Linked DNA regions of Homo sapiens: region 2 is linked to region 1. Evidence: promoter capture Hi-C in 16 types of primary human blood cells and fetal thymus (Javierre and others, 2016). All regions are on one chromosome and are shown on one strand. Each heading gives the region's core, a stretch centred on a gene start or on the middle of the fragment in contact. The rest is flanking DNA. Distances are from core to core; before and after follow the strand shown.

Region 1 (6,064 bases), core at 1,821-4,320:
GTCTCGAACTCCTGACCTCGTGATCCGCCTGCCTCGGCCTCCCAAAGTGCTAGGATTACATTACAGGCGTGAGCCACTGCCCCCGGCCAAGAATACTCTTATTACACACTTTGTAGCTCTTTTATCTGACTTCACACCAACATCCAGCTAATGTCTTGTGAACACCAAGGAGTATGTATAGTTGAGATGTAATATTTCCCTTTGCTGTTTGAGAACATTAATATGGAGATAAAGCTGGTGGTTTACACTTTGCTAATATCTTAGAAGATACAGGCAATAGACAAAAATAGGAGGATATAGAAACAGGGAGCTTGGCTCTGTTAATCTTCAACTTCAGCTTAATTGTGGCTCATTTCTAAACTGTCACTAAGAAACCTGGATTGTGTTCACTTGTTCAGTGTTTTATTTGAATGAGCAAGTTATGGCAGTAGGGCATCTTTAATCTGTAGTCTCAGAACTGACAGGCTAAAAGGAACACAGGAATAGTAGTGTGTAGTAGGGAATGGTTTAAAAAAAAAAATTAGCCAGGCACAGTGGTTCACGCCTGTAATCCCAGCACTTTGGGAGGCCAAGGCTGGCAGATCACCTGAGGTCAGGAGTTAGAGATCGGTCTGGCCAACATGGTGAAACCCTGTCTTTACTAAATATACAAAAATTAGCCAGGCGTGGTGGCACATGCTTGTAATCCCAGCTACTCCGGCGACTGAGACAGGAGAATTGCTTTAACCCGAGAGGCAGAGGTTGCAGTGAGCCGATAGCGGGCAATTGCACTCCAACCTGGGCGATAGAGCGAGACTCTGTCTCAGAAAGCAAAAAACAAACAAAACATTGACTTTGTCAGGAATTAGCTACTTCATGATTGAGGGCATTAAGGGAAATGAGGCTGGCTTTTTACTTGTAGTACTCTACAACAGTAGGAAAACATGTCTAGTCTTTCTGGAGGGGCTAATGGGAAGAATTGCAAGAACTGCTTAGAGAGTGAGAGATGGGATGAGGCAGGACAAGAGGGTGTTCCAGCATACATCATTTTCTCCTTAAAGAACCAACTTCTCTGTCTTCTTTCCATTTGGAGTTATAGGTATTGTTCTAAGGCCTCCAGATTATTCAGTCCTTATGCCTTGTAGCTTTTTGGAAAAAGAGGGTCTTTGGAGGCCAAGCAGGCTGGCTGGCGGAATCATGGCTCATGCTGGGCTGGCTAGTTTTTCCCTTAATTCTTGCTTCTCAGATGTATGTCCCTGGGAAGCTGCATGATGTGGAACACGTGCTCATCGATGTGGGAACTGGGTACTATGTAGAGAAGGTGAGTGAGAGCATGTGGATGCCCCTCTAAACAGGGAAGGGAAATTCAGGGGAAGCTCTAGAGCGCAGCATGGCCAGAGGGAGTCTCCTTTTAGCCCCTTATTCACCTCTGATCTTGTAGACAGCTGAGGATGCCAAGGACTTCTTCAAGAGGAAGATAGATTTTCTAACCAAGCAGATGGAGAAAATCCAACCAGCTCTTCAGGAGAAGCACGCCATGAAACAGGGTAAGTTTTTCCTGGGGCACCTCTTGACCCTATCTCCATAATAAGGAACATGGATTGCAGTGTGAACCACGGGGGTGTCCCCTTTGCTGGAGTAAAACTATGTCTTAGTTTCTCTTTGGCATCTTTAGAATCTGTGTATTGCATAATCACTATCTGTAGATTCCTGGGTTGAGCGTTTGAGAAATTTAGAGGAAGGAAATCATGTTTGTGCTTTGGTGGAGCTCCTATTTAATGACGATGGAATGGGGGAATGAGATGAACACACAGGAAGGAATCATGATCCAAACGAACTAAATACCAGCAATTATAACCCCGACTGCACATGAGAATCACTCAGGAAGTTTAAAAAGAAAGCTTGGGCCCATTCCAGATTGACTAAATCAACTTGGAAGTCAAAGGAGGGGAAGTTGTACCAAGGTCTGTTTTTTTTTAAAAAAGCTCCCCTCTGTTATAATCAGGATTCAGAACCAGTGTTCCAAAGGTAAAAATCTTTCCCCATCATAGTTTTCTGATTATGTCAGACTCATTTAATACCATATTGTGTTCGTTTTTATATCTTTGGTTAGCAGGTTTTTTTTTTTTCCGAGAAGAGTCTCATTCTCACCACACCCAGCTGTGTTAGCATATTGACCGATGCATTGTAGACCCTAAATTTGTGTTAGTGACCCCACAGTGGATCACTGAGTTAAAGTTTTATTAACAATGCCAGGCGCAGTGGCTGACGCCTGTAATCCCAGCACTTTGGGAGGCCAAGGCAGGTGGATCACCTGAGGTTAGGAGTTCAAGACCAGCCTGGCCACCATGGTGAAACCCCATCTCTACTAAAAATACAAAGTTAGCCCGGGCATGGTGGTGCATGCCTGTAATCCCAGCTGTTCGGGAGGATGAGGCAGGAGAATCGCTTGAACCCGGGAGACGGAGGTTGCTGTGAGCCAAGATCGTGCCACTGCACTCCAGCCTCGGTGACAAGAGCAGGATTCTGTCTCAAAAAAAAAAAAAAAAGGTTATTAACAAACTGTAGTTAGTCGGTCGCCTGTCCTTAAACTTGCCTGTCACTTCTCCTTAACTCTAGGTTCTCCTTTTTGCTTCTAACCTTTGACTCTTATTTTTTTCCACAGCCGTCATGGAAATGATGAGTCAGAAGATTCAGCAGCTCACAGCCCTGGGGGCAGCTCAGGCTACTGCTAAGGCCTGAGAGTTTTTGCAGAAATGGGGCAGAGGGACACCCTTTGGGCGTGGCTTCCTGGTGATGGGAAGGGTCTTGTGTTTTAATGCCAATAAATGTGCCAGCTGGGCAGAATGTTGGTCTTTTCTTGGATTAAGCAAGGGACTGGTGATGAGATGGGGGGTGTGGTCGAGAGTGTGGGCCCCGTCTCAGAGCCTGATGCGCAGGGGTGATGCGATGCGCCTCTTGGAGGCTCCATCGCAGGGCCCTTTGACCAGCTGGAAGAAATCCTAGGCTGGGAGTCTGCTGCTGCTCACTCTGCAGAGCTGGTTGCCAAGGGAACGGTTGGCAAGCGGAAGTGGGGCTGCGCTGGCGCTTCCTCTTCCGGGTCGGCGCTCCTGCCTCCCTGCAGGGAGCTGCTTATGGGACACCAATTCCTGCGCGGCCTCTTAACGCTGCTGCTGCCGCCGCCACCCCTGTATACCCGGCACCGCATGCTCGGTCCAGAGTCCGTCCCGCCCCCAAAACGATCCCGCAGCAAACTCATGGCACCGCCCCGAATCGGGACGCACAATGGCACCTTCCACTGCGACGAGGCACTGGCATGCGCACTGCTTCGCCTCCTGCCGGAGTACCGGGTACGGTCCGCGAAAAGTGACCCTGGGACTGCGTGCATGCATGCCTCCGGGGTGGATGGCATTCCGCCAACAGGGTCACTCCGATAGCGCCCGGCAGCCCAAGCACCCTTCCTACCCTTCCTGCCTCCCTGAAGTCCAGCATTAATCCCCTACCCGGCGACACCCGGCAGCCCCTTCACCCCTGTGTACCTCGCAGGATGCAGAGATTGTGCGGACCCGGGATCCCGAAAAACTCGCTTCCTGTGACATCGTGGTGGACGTGGGGGGCGAGTACGACCCTCGGAGACACCGATATGACCATCACCAGAGGTAGGTTCTCAGATACCATTTATTTAACTTCCTTGACCTCAGCTTTCCTCTGTGCTCCAATTCAGCCATCCACTGCCGTAGTCCGCGTCAGCGAAAAGAACTGCTTCATCACTGAAATCAAACTCCCACTAGGACTACATCATCCTTCCGGCCCTGCCTGTTCTTCACCCATCTCCCTGGCCTGGGACCTCCTTTGGTTCCCAGGGAGTCCCTCAGGCCCCTTATCTCATCTCCTTCCTTAGCCAAGGCTTTTTTTCCATCAGCAACTTCATCACCCCAACTAAATAAACCCATCTGTGATTAATCCATTCTGGTGCCCTTGCTGCTGCACCTAACTGCTGGGCCCACATGATTGTGGCAGTTGGTGACAGTTCAGATGTGTGAAGTTTTCTACTTCATTTACACCCTTCCAAAGGGAAATCCTTCTTGCTCAAGGGTAGCCCATTCCAATCCTTTTCTTCTCCCTCAAGCCTCTACCGCATCAAACTGAGTGTCCCTGCCTCTTTTCAAAAGAAGTTGAGCATTTCCTCAGTCTCCCACCTCAAACATCCTCAGCTCCCTCCTACCAACTAAGGGAAATTTCTTCCCTTCTATTGGAGGTTAATCCTCTGTCCTGTTTCCAGTCTATTACTTTCTTCTCTGGGATTCTTTTTTCTTTTCTTTTTTTTTTTTTTTGAGACGGAGTCTCCCACTGTCGCCCAAGCTGGAGTGTAGTGGCACGATCTCGGCTCACTGCAACCTCTGTCTCCCAGGTTCAAGCGATTCTCCTGTCTCAGCCTCCCGAGTAGCTGGGACTACAGGCACCCACCACCACACCCGGCTAATTTTTGTATTTTTAGTAGAGACGGGTTTCACCATATTGGCCAGAGTGGTCTCGAACTCCTGGCCTTGTGATCTGCCCCGCCTTGGCCTCCCAAAGTGCTGGGATTACAGGTGTGAGCCACTGTTGGCCTATCCTCTGGGATTTCATGTCACAGTTCCACTAGTGTCTCTGCCTCTCCTTCCCTACAGCCTAAAACCCTTCTCAAGTATCTTCCATCTTGAAAAGAAACACAGGTGTAAAAACAAAACCCTCCCTCAATTATACCACACCACGAGAAGTAATTATCTTGGAGAGAGGGATTATGATGTTTTAAGTCTCTCTCCTTTTTTCTTTTTTTAGCATACATATTATAAATGATGTCAGGAAGAAACCCTCCCAATATTTACAGCCTAAGCTCTCACCCTTGCTTCTCAGCCACCCTTCAAAAAACAGCTGACCGTGGCTTCACCTGTTCCTTTCCAGTTCATTCCCCTCAAGCCCACTCTCCCAGTGTCTTCTCTGGAACTGCTCGGCAGAAGGGCACCAGTTACCTCAGCACCAAACCAGGGAGCTGGTAAAGGGTCTCAACTGATCTCTTTAGCACTTGGCATTATTGACCACTTCCTTTTATCAAATTGTTTTTAAGATGGAGTCTCGTCTGTCACCCAGGCTGGAGTGCAGTGATGTGATCTCGACTCACTGCAACCTCCGTCTGCTGGGTTCAAGTGATTCTCCTGCCTCAGCCTCCCAAGTAGCTGAGACTACAGGCGCCCAGCTAATTTTTGTATTTTTAGGAGAGACAGTGTTTCACTATGTTGGCCAGTCTGGTCTTGAACTCCTAACCTCAGGTGATCCACCCGCCTCAGTCTCCCAAAGTGCTAGGATTGCAGGTGTGAGCCACCATGCCCAGCCTCATTTTTTTTATTTTTACTTTTTTTGAGATGGAGTTTCGCTATTGTTGCCCAGGCTGGAGTGCAGTGGCACTCAGCTCACTTCAACCTCCACCTCCCAGATTCAAGTAATTCTCCTGCCTCAGCTTCCCAAGAAGCTGGGACTACAGGCGTGTGCCACCATGTCCGGCTAATTTTTCCATTCTTAGTAGAAACAGAGTTTCAGCATGTTGGCCAGGCTGGTCTCAAACTACTGACCTCAAGTGATCACGCCTTGGCCTCCCAAAGTGTTGGGATTAGAGGTGTGAGCCACTGAGCCCAGCCTGTATTTACTCAATATTTAATAATAAAAGTCAGTTAACAAATGGAGCTCCCTAGGTAATTCTGAGATGGACTGGTATTTAGAAATCATGGCTGTAGTTTCTGCTTCCCTAACATCTGTTATATCTTTTCTCTATTTTCTGCCCCACTGCTGTTCAAATTCTTGCCTTCTTTATTCACCTGAACCATTGCAGGTAATCTCCTTGCATCTGTTCTCCATGCTGGCTGGTGCAATGCTGTAACATGCACCTGCCTGCTTAAAATCCCCCAATGACTTCGATTACCCACAGATAAAGTCCGATGGTCTGGCCCTGCCTGCCCTTCCAGCTTTTTCTTTTGCCATTCACTTCTCACACCTGAGCTGCCTTTGCTGAAGTTCCATCAAGACACTTGTCTCTCAGCCATCATTCATG
Region 2 (5,801 bases), core at 1,743-4,242, 170 kb before region 1:
GCGCCTCCTCCACCGAAACGCTCATGGGTGCATCCCTGACGAGCCCAGGTGTGTCTAAGGAGGAGGCACCAGCGGGGACCCGAAGGCACTCCAGGCAGGACACCACCACTGGGCTCACCTGAAGATGAGTAAAGGTGGGTCAGACCAGAAGTTGCCATCTGTGCATGGCCTCAGGCCCCCCTCCTCTTTGGACACCCTTTTATTATTAGCTTTGTGCCCACACAGCCCTCCCTTCAGGATCCTCAGGGGTCAGAGGGCTGTGGTTCGGGAAGTACCTAGGGTGGCAGTAGGTGGTGAGGCTGCTGCCCGGCAGGACTTTCCTCCCCTGCTGAGAGCCACCTTTCTTCCTGTCTACAGTCTGCGAGTGTTGTCCCCTGTGTGTCCCCAGACTGCACCCAACTGCTTGTTACAGACACCTTCCCTTCACCCCTTTGATTTTGCCTAGTGTTTCCCCTTCTTTAAATCACCTTGCCTGTCCTGGGACCCTTATAGCACTCGCTCTGCTGTCCTATGGTCCCCTCCCGAATCTGTGCTGTCCAGTGTCTGTGACCTCTGTAACACCCCACACCTCACTATCCATGCTCCTCTCATGCTCTGCCATGCGGAGCTCCTCTTCCATAACACACACTCCACCGTTCTACAACACAGGCTTCAAATGGGCATTTCAGCAAAGTCCAATGACCTTAATCTTAATCTGCATGCAGGATTTCCTTTTTTTTCTTTCTTTCTTCCTTTTTTTTTTTTGACAGAGTCTTGCTCTGTCTCCCAGGCTGGAGTGCAGTGGTGCAATCTTGACTCACTGCAACCTCTGCCTTCTGGGTTCAAGCGATTCTCATGCCTCAGCTTCCTGAATAGCTGGGACTACAGGTGCATGTCACCATGTCCGGCTAATTTTTGTATTTTTAGTAGAGACGGGTTTTCACCACATTGGCCAGGCTGGTCTTGACCTCCTGACCTCAGGTGATCCACCCACCTCAGCCTCCCAAAGTGTTGGAATTACAGGCGTGAGCCACCATGCCTGGCCAGGATTTCCTTTCCATTCTTCAAAGGAACTATATCATTCATTCTCTCTTCTCCCATCATCCCTCTCCAAGCCCACAGAACTCCCCAGCAGCTCTCCTCTGCCCCAATTCCTTCCTGTTAACTGAAGAAATTCGCCCTCTTCCCTCTCCTCCTACCATCTCACTCAATGATATCAGCAGCTCTGGCACCATCCCTCCATTCTCCCTTCTACTAGATTGCTCCCAACAGCAGCCAGCTATGCTCCTAGTCTACTCTCCCTATGTCTAACTGTCCCTCTCCTCCCCCACAGCTACATCAGGCTGCTGTCCCACTTCTCAGCTCCCTGTCACAGCCACACTTCTCCAAAGAGTTGCCTGTCCCCACTGTTGAGGTTTTTCACCTCACATTCACTCAAGTGTTGATCATAGGTCTGCAAAGGGGCCTCTCATATTTTAATATGGGTTATTTGCTCCAGTACACAAGCCTTCCTGTTATTTCCCCTCTCATCAGATGGACCCACTTTGACACATGACAAATCTGTATGGATTCTTGAAAATGTAGTGCTTTATTGTACCTTTTAAATTTATATAAAGGGTTTAGTCAGCTTTATTCAAATATAATTCACATATCATACAATTTGTCCACCTAAAGTATGCAAGTCAATAATGTTAGTATAGGCCGGGCGCAGTGGCTCAAGCCTGTAATCCCAGCACTTTGGGAGGCCGAGGTGGGTGGATCACGAGGTCAGGAGATCGAGACCATCCTGGCTAACATGGTGAAACCCTGTCTGTACTAAAAGTACAAAAAAAAAAAATTAGCTGGACGTGGTGGCGGGCACCTGTAGTCCCAGCTACTCGGGAGGCTGAGGCAGGAGAATGGTGTGAACCCGGGAGGAAGAGCTTGCAGTGAGCCGAGATGGCACCACTGCACTCCAGCCTGGGTGACAGAGCGAGACTCCGTCTCAAAATAAATAAATAAATAAAATAATGTTAGTATATTCAGATTTGTGCAACCATCACCACAGTTAGCACATTTCATCACTGGCCCCCAAAATCTCATACCTACTAGTAGTCACTCTCCATGTCCCGAAAACCTCCCAGCCTTGGGCAACCACTGATTTACTTTCTGGATATTTCTTTTCTTTTTCTTTTTTCTGTTTTTTTTTTTGAGACAAGGTCTCATTCTGTCACCCAGACAGTGGTTTCTGGGTACAGTGGTGCCATCATAGCTCACTGCGACATTGAACTCCTCGCACAAGCAATCCTCCTACCTCAGTCTCCTGAGTAGCGGAGACCACAGGTGCACACCACCACACCCAGCTAGATTTTGTACTTAAAAAATTATTTTTGTAGAGATGGGGTTTTGCCATGTTGCCAAGCTGGTCTCAAACTCCTGGGCTCAAGTGATCTGCCCACCTCAGCCTCCCAAAGTGCTGGGATTACAGGCATGAGCCACCATGCATGGCCTATTCTGGATATTTCACATAAATGAAATCAGGCATCAGTGGTGGGGATGGCTACAGGCCAGGGCTGCTGACTGACAAGCTAGGAGAGGGCCCAGTGCCCAGAATCTTGGTGGGCGCTGCTGAAGCACCGCCTACACCATGCCTCTCTCTGCCACCTCCTTGGAGCGTTTTGAGCAGCTGCACGAGATGTGCCTCCAAGGGGTGCACTAGTGGCTGCTGGGTATGGCAGGGACCCAGGAGAAGCTGATCAGAGATTTTGATGAAAAGCAACAGGAAGCAAACAAAATGCTGACACAGATGGAGGAGGAACTACATTATGCACCCGTATCTTTCCATAACCCCATGATGTCTAAGCTTCAAGACTATCAGAAGGACCTTGCCCAATTCCATCTGGAGGCAAGAAGTACACCTTTGCAGCCATGCCTGGGGACCGAGGAGACATGAAATATGGCACATATGCTGTAGAGAATGAGCATATGAATAGGCTACAGTCTCAAAGGGCAATGCTTCTCCAAGGCACCAAAAGCCTGGGCCGGGCCACCCAAGAGACTGACCAGATTGGCTCAGAAATCTCAGAAGAGCTGGGGAACCAACGGGACCAGTGAGAACGTACCAAGAGTACACTGGGAAACGCAAGTGAAAACTTGTTCAAAAGTCGAAAGATTCTCTCTTCTAAGTCCAGAAAAGTGATAACCAACAAGCTTCTGCTTTCCATCATCTCACTGGAGCTAGCCATCCTGGGAGGCTTGGTTTACTTTGTGTTCTTTTGCAAGCATGGGACTTGCAATAGGGAAGGATTGTGGACCAGAACTTTGACCTTGGGAATGCATGGTGTTAGGGATGTGGATGGAATAAGCATGTTGCTCCTGTGGGCTAACAGTTCAAGGATGCACTGCGTAGCCAGACTGTGGGGGAGAAGGGAGGAAAGGTGGAAAGCCACTTAACTGTGAAGTGACAGCAACAAGACCAGTATGATATACCAAGGTAATAATGCTGTTTATGACTTCTTTTTTTGTTGTTGGTTTTTTGTTTTGTTTTGTTTTGTTTTTGTTTTTGTTTTTGAGACAGAGTCTCACTCTGTCGTCCAGGCTGGAGTGCTATGGCGTGATCTCGGCTCACTGCAAACTCCACCTTCTGGGTTCACGCCATTCTCCCGCCTCAGCCTTCAGAGTAACTGGGACTACGGGTGCCCGCCACCACGCCTGGCTAATTTTTTGTATTTTTAGTGGAGACAGGGTTTCACCATGTTAGCCAGGATAGTCTCGATCTCCTGACCTCGTGATCTGCCCGCCTTGGCCTCCCAAAGTGCTGGGATTACAGGCATGAGCCACCGCGCCCGGCCATGACTTCTTTAAAAATACATAAGCCTGGCCAACATAGCAAGAACTCATCTCTACCAAAAATAAAAAAAAATTAGCCAGGTGCGGAGGCCACATCTGTAGTCCCAGCTACTTAGAAGGCTGAGGCAGGAGAACTCCTTGAGACCAGGAGTCTGAGGCTGCAGTGAGCTATGATAGTGCCACTGCACTCCAGCCTGGGTGACAGAGTGAGACCTTGTCTCCAAAAACAAAATTAATTAATTAATTTTTAAGAATATGCCAAGGCTGGGCGTGGTGGCTCACACCTGTAATCCCAGCACTTTGGGAGGCCGAGGTGGGAGGATCACCTGAGGTCAGGAGTTCAAGACCAGCCTGGCCAACATGGTGAAACCCTGTCTCTACTAAAAATACCAAAAATTAGCTGGGCATGGTGGTGTGCACCCATAATCCCAGCTACTCTGGAGGCTGAGGCAGGAGAATCGCTTGAACCCGGGAGGCAGAGGTTGCAGTGAGTTGAGATTGTGCCACTGCGCTCTAGCCTGGGCGATAGAATGAGACTCTCTCAAAAAAAAAAAAAAAAAAAGGCCAGGCACGGTGGCTCACACCTGTAATCCCAACACTTTGGGAGCCTGAGGCGGGCAGATCACCTGAGTTTGAGGGTTCGAGACCAGCCTGACCAACATGGAGAAACCCTGTCTCTACTAAAATTACAAAATTAGCTGGGCATGGTGGCACATGCCTGTAATCCCAGCTACTCGGGAGGCTGAGACAGGAGAATCGCTTGGGCCCAGGAGGCGGAGGTTTCGGTGAGCCAAGATCATGCAATCGCACTCTAGCCTGGGCAACAAGAGTGAAACTCCATCTCAGAAAAAAAAAAAAAAAAAGTGCCGCATGTGGTGCCGCATGCGTGCAATTCCAGCACTTTGGGAGGCCGAGGTGGACAGATTGCTTGAGCTCAGGAGTTCAAGACCAGCCTGGCCAACATGGTGAAAACCCGTCTCTACTAAAAAAAATACAAAATTAGCTGAGCGTGGTGGTGCATGCCTGTGGTCCCAGCTACTCTAGAGGCTGAGCAAGGGAGAATCACCTGGGTTCAGGAGGTCGAGGCTGCAGTGAGTCAACATTGGGCCCTGCACTCCAGCCTGGTGACAGAGTGAGACCCTGTCTCAAAAATAACAATCAACCAATAAATGAAATCATACCCAATGTGGTCCTCTGAGATGGCCTTCTTCTTAACCTGTTTTGAAGATTCAATCATGTTTTAGCATATACCATACTTCATTTCTTTTTCTTTTTTTCAAGACAAGGTCTCCCTCTGTTGCCCAGGTTGGAGTTCAATGGCCTGATCATGGTTCACTGCAACTTTGACCTCCCAGGCTCAAACAATCCTCCCACCTCAGCTTCCTGAGTAGCTGCAACTGGAAGTGGGCCACCACCATGTCTGGCTAACTTTTTTGTATTTTTTTTTAATAGAACAAGGTCTCACTATGTTGCCCAGATTTATCTCGGACTCCCCAGCCAAGCAATTTGCTGCCTCCGCCTTCCAGAGTGTTGGGACTACAGGTGTGAGCCTATAGAAATAAAGACCGCACCCAGTCCTTTATTTCTTTTTTTGACTCACAAGTGCTTGATGTTCTTTCTTATTGTCAAATTATATTCCATTGTATAGATATACCACATTTCATATATCCATTCACCAGTAATGGAATTGAGTTTTTTCCACTATTTTGGCTATTCTGAATAAAGCTGCTATGAATGTTTGTGTGCAACTCTTTGCCTCAATAAATGTGTTTTATTTCTCTTGGCTATATACCTGGAAGTGGAATTACTGGGTCATATGATAATTCTGCATTTAATCGTTTGAGGAACTGCTAGACCATTTTCCAAAGTGGCTGCACCGGTTTATAATCCTGCCAGCAGTGTATGAGGGTTCCAACTTCCCACATACTCACCAACACTTCGTTATTATCTCTTTTTGATTATAGCCGTCTTCATATGAAGTGGTATCTCATTGT

The links. Contacts are between HindIII fragments. The CHiCAGO score rates a contact against its expected background, and 5 or more counts as called.
Region 2: a contact is called between a fragment that was not itself captured here and the fragment with the promoter of MYG1 in region 1, in 2 of 17 cell types (total CD8 T cells and naive CD8 T cells). The highest score is 5.3, in total CD8 T cells.

The regions. Positions count from the first base shown.
Region 1 is chr12:53,296,625-53,302,688 of GRCh38, forward strand. It overlaps MYG1 (MYG1 exonuclease), which reads left to right and starts at 3,071. Exons shown (of 7, transcript NM_021640.4): 1 at 3,071-3,329; 2 at 3,526-3,638. The coding sequence starts at 3,114. It overlaps PFDN5 (prefoldin subunit 5), which reads left to right. Exons shown (of 6, transcript NM_002624.4): 4 at 1,226-1,300; 5 at 1,421-1,526; 6 at 2,645-2,826. The coding sequence ends at 2,721. RefSeq lists enhancers at 2,043-3,242, 2,746-2,835, 2,876-2,975, 2,881-3,175, 2,986-3,045 and 1 more. The HindIII fragment of the contact is 10,124 bases long and covers 1,879-6,064 here.
Region 2 is chr12:53,128,745-53,134,545 of GRCh38, forward strand. It overlaps the pseudogene VTI1BP3. Among named protein-coding and RNA genes, the nearest start is that of SOAT2, 28 kb to the left of the region's middle. The HindIII fragment of the contact is 347 bases long and covers 2,820-3,166 here.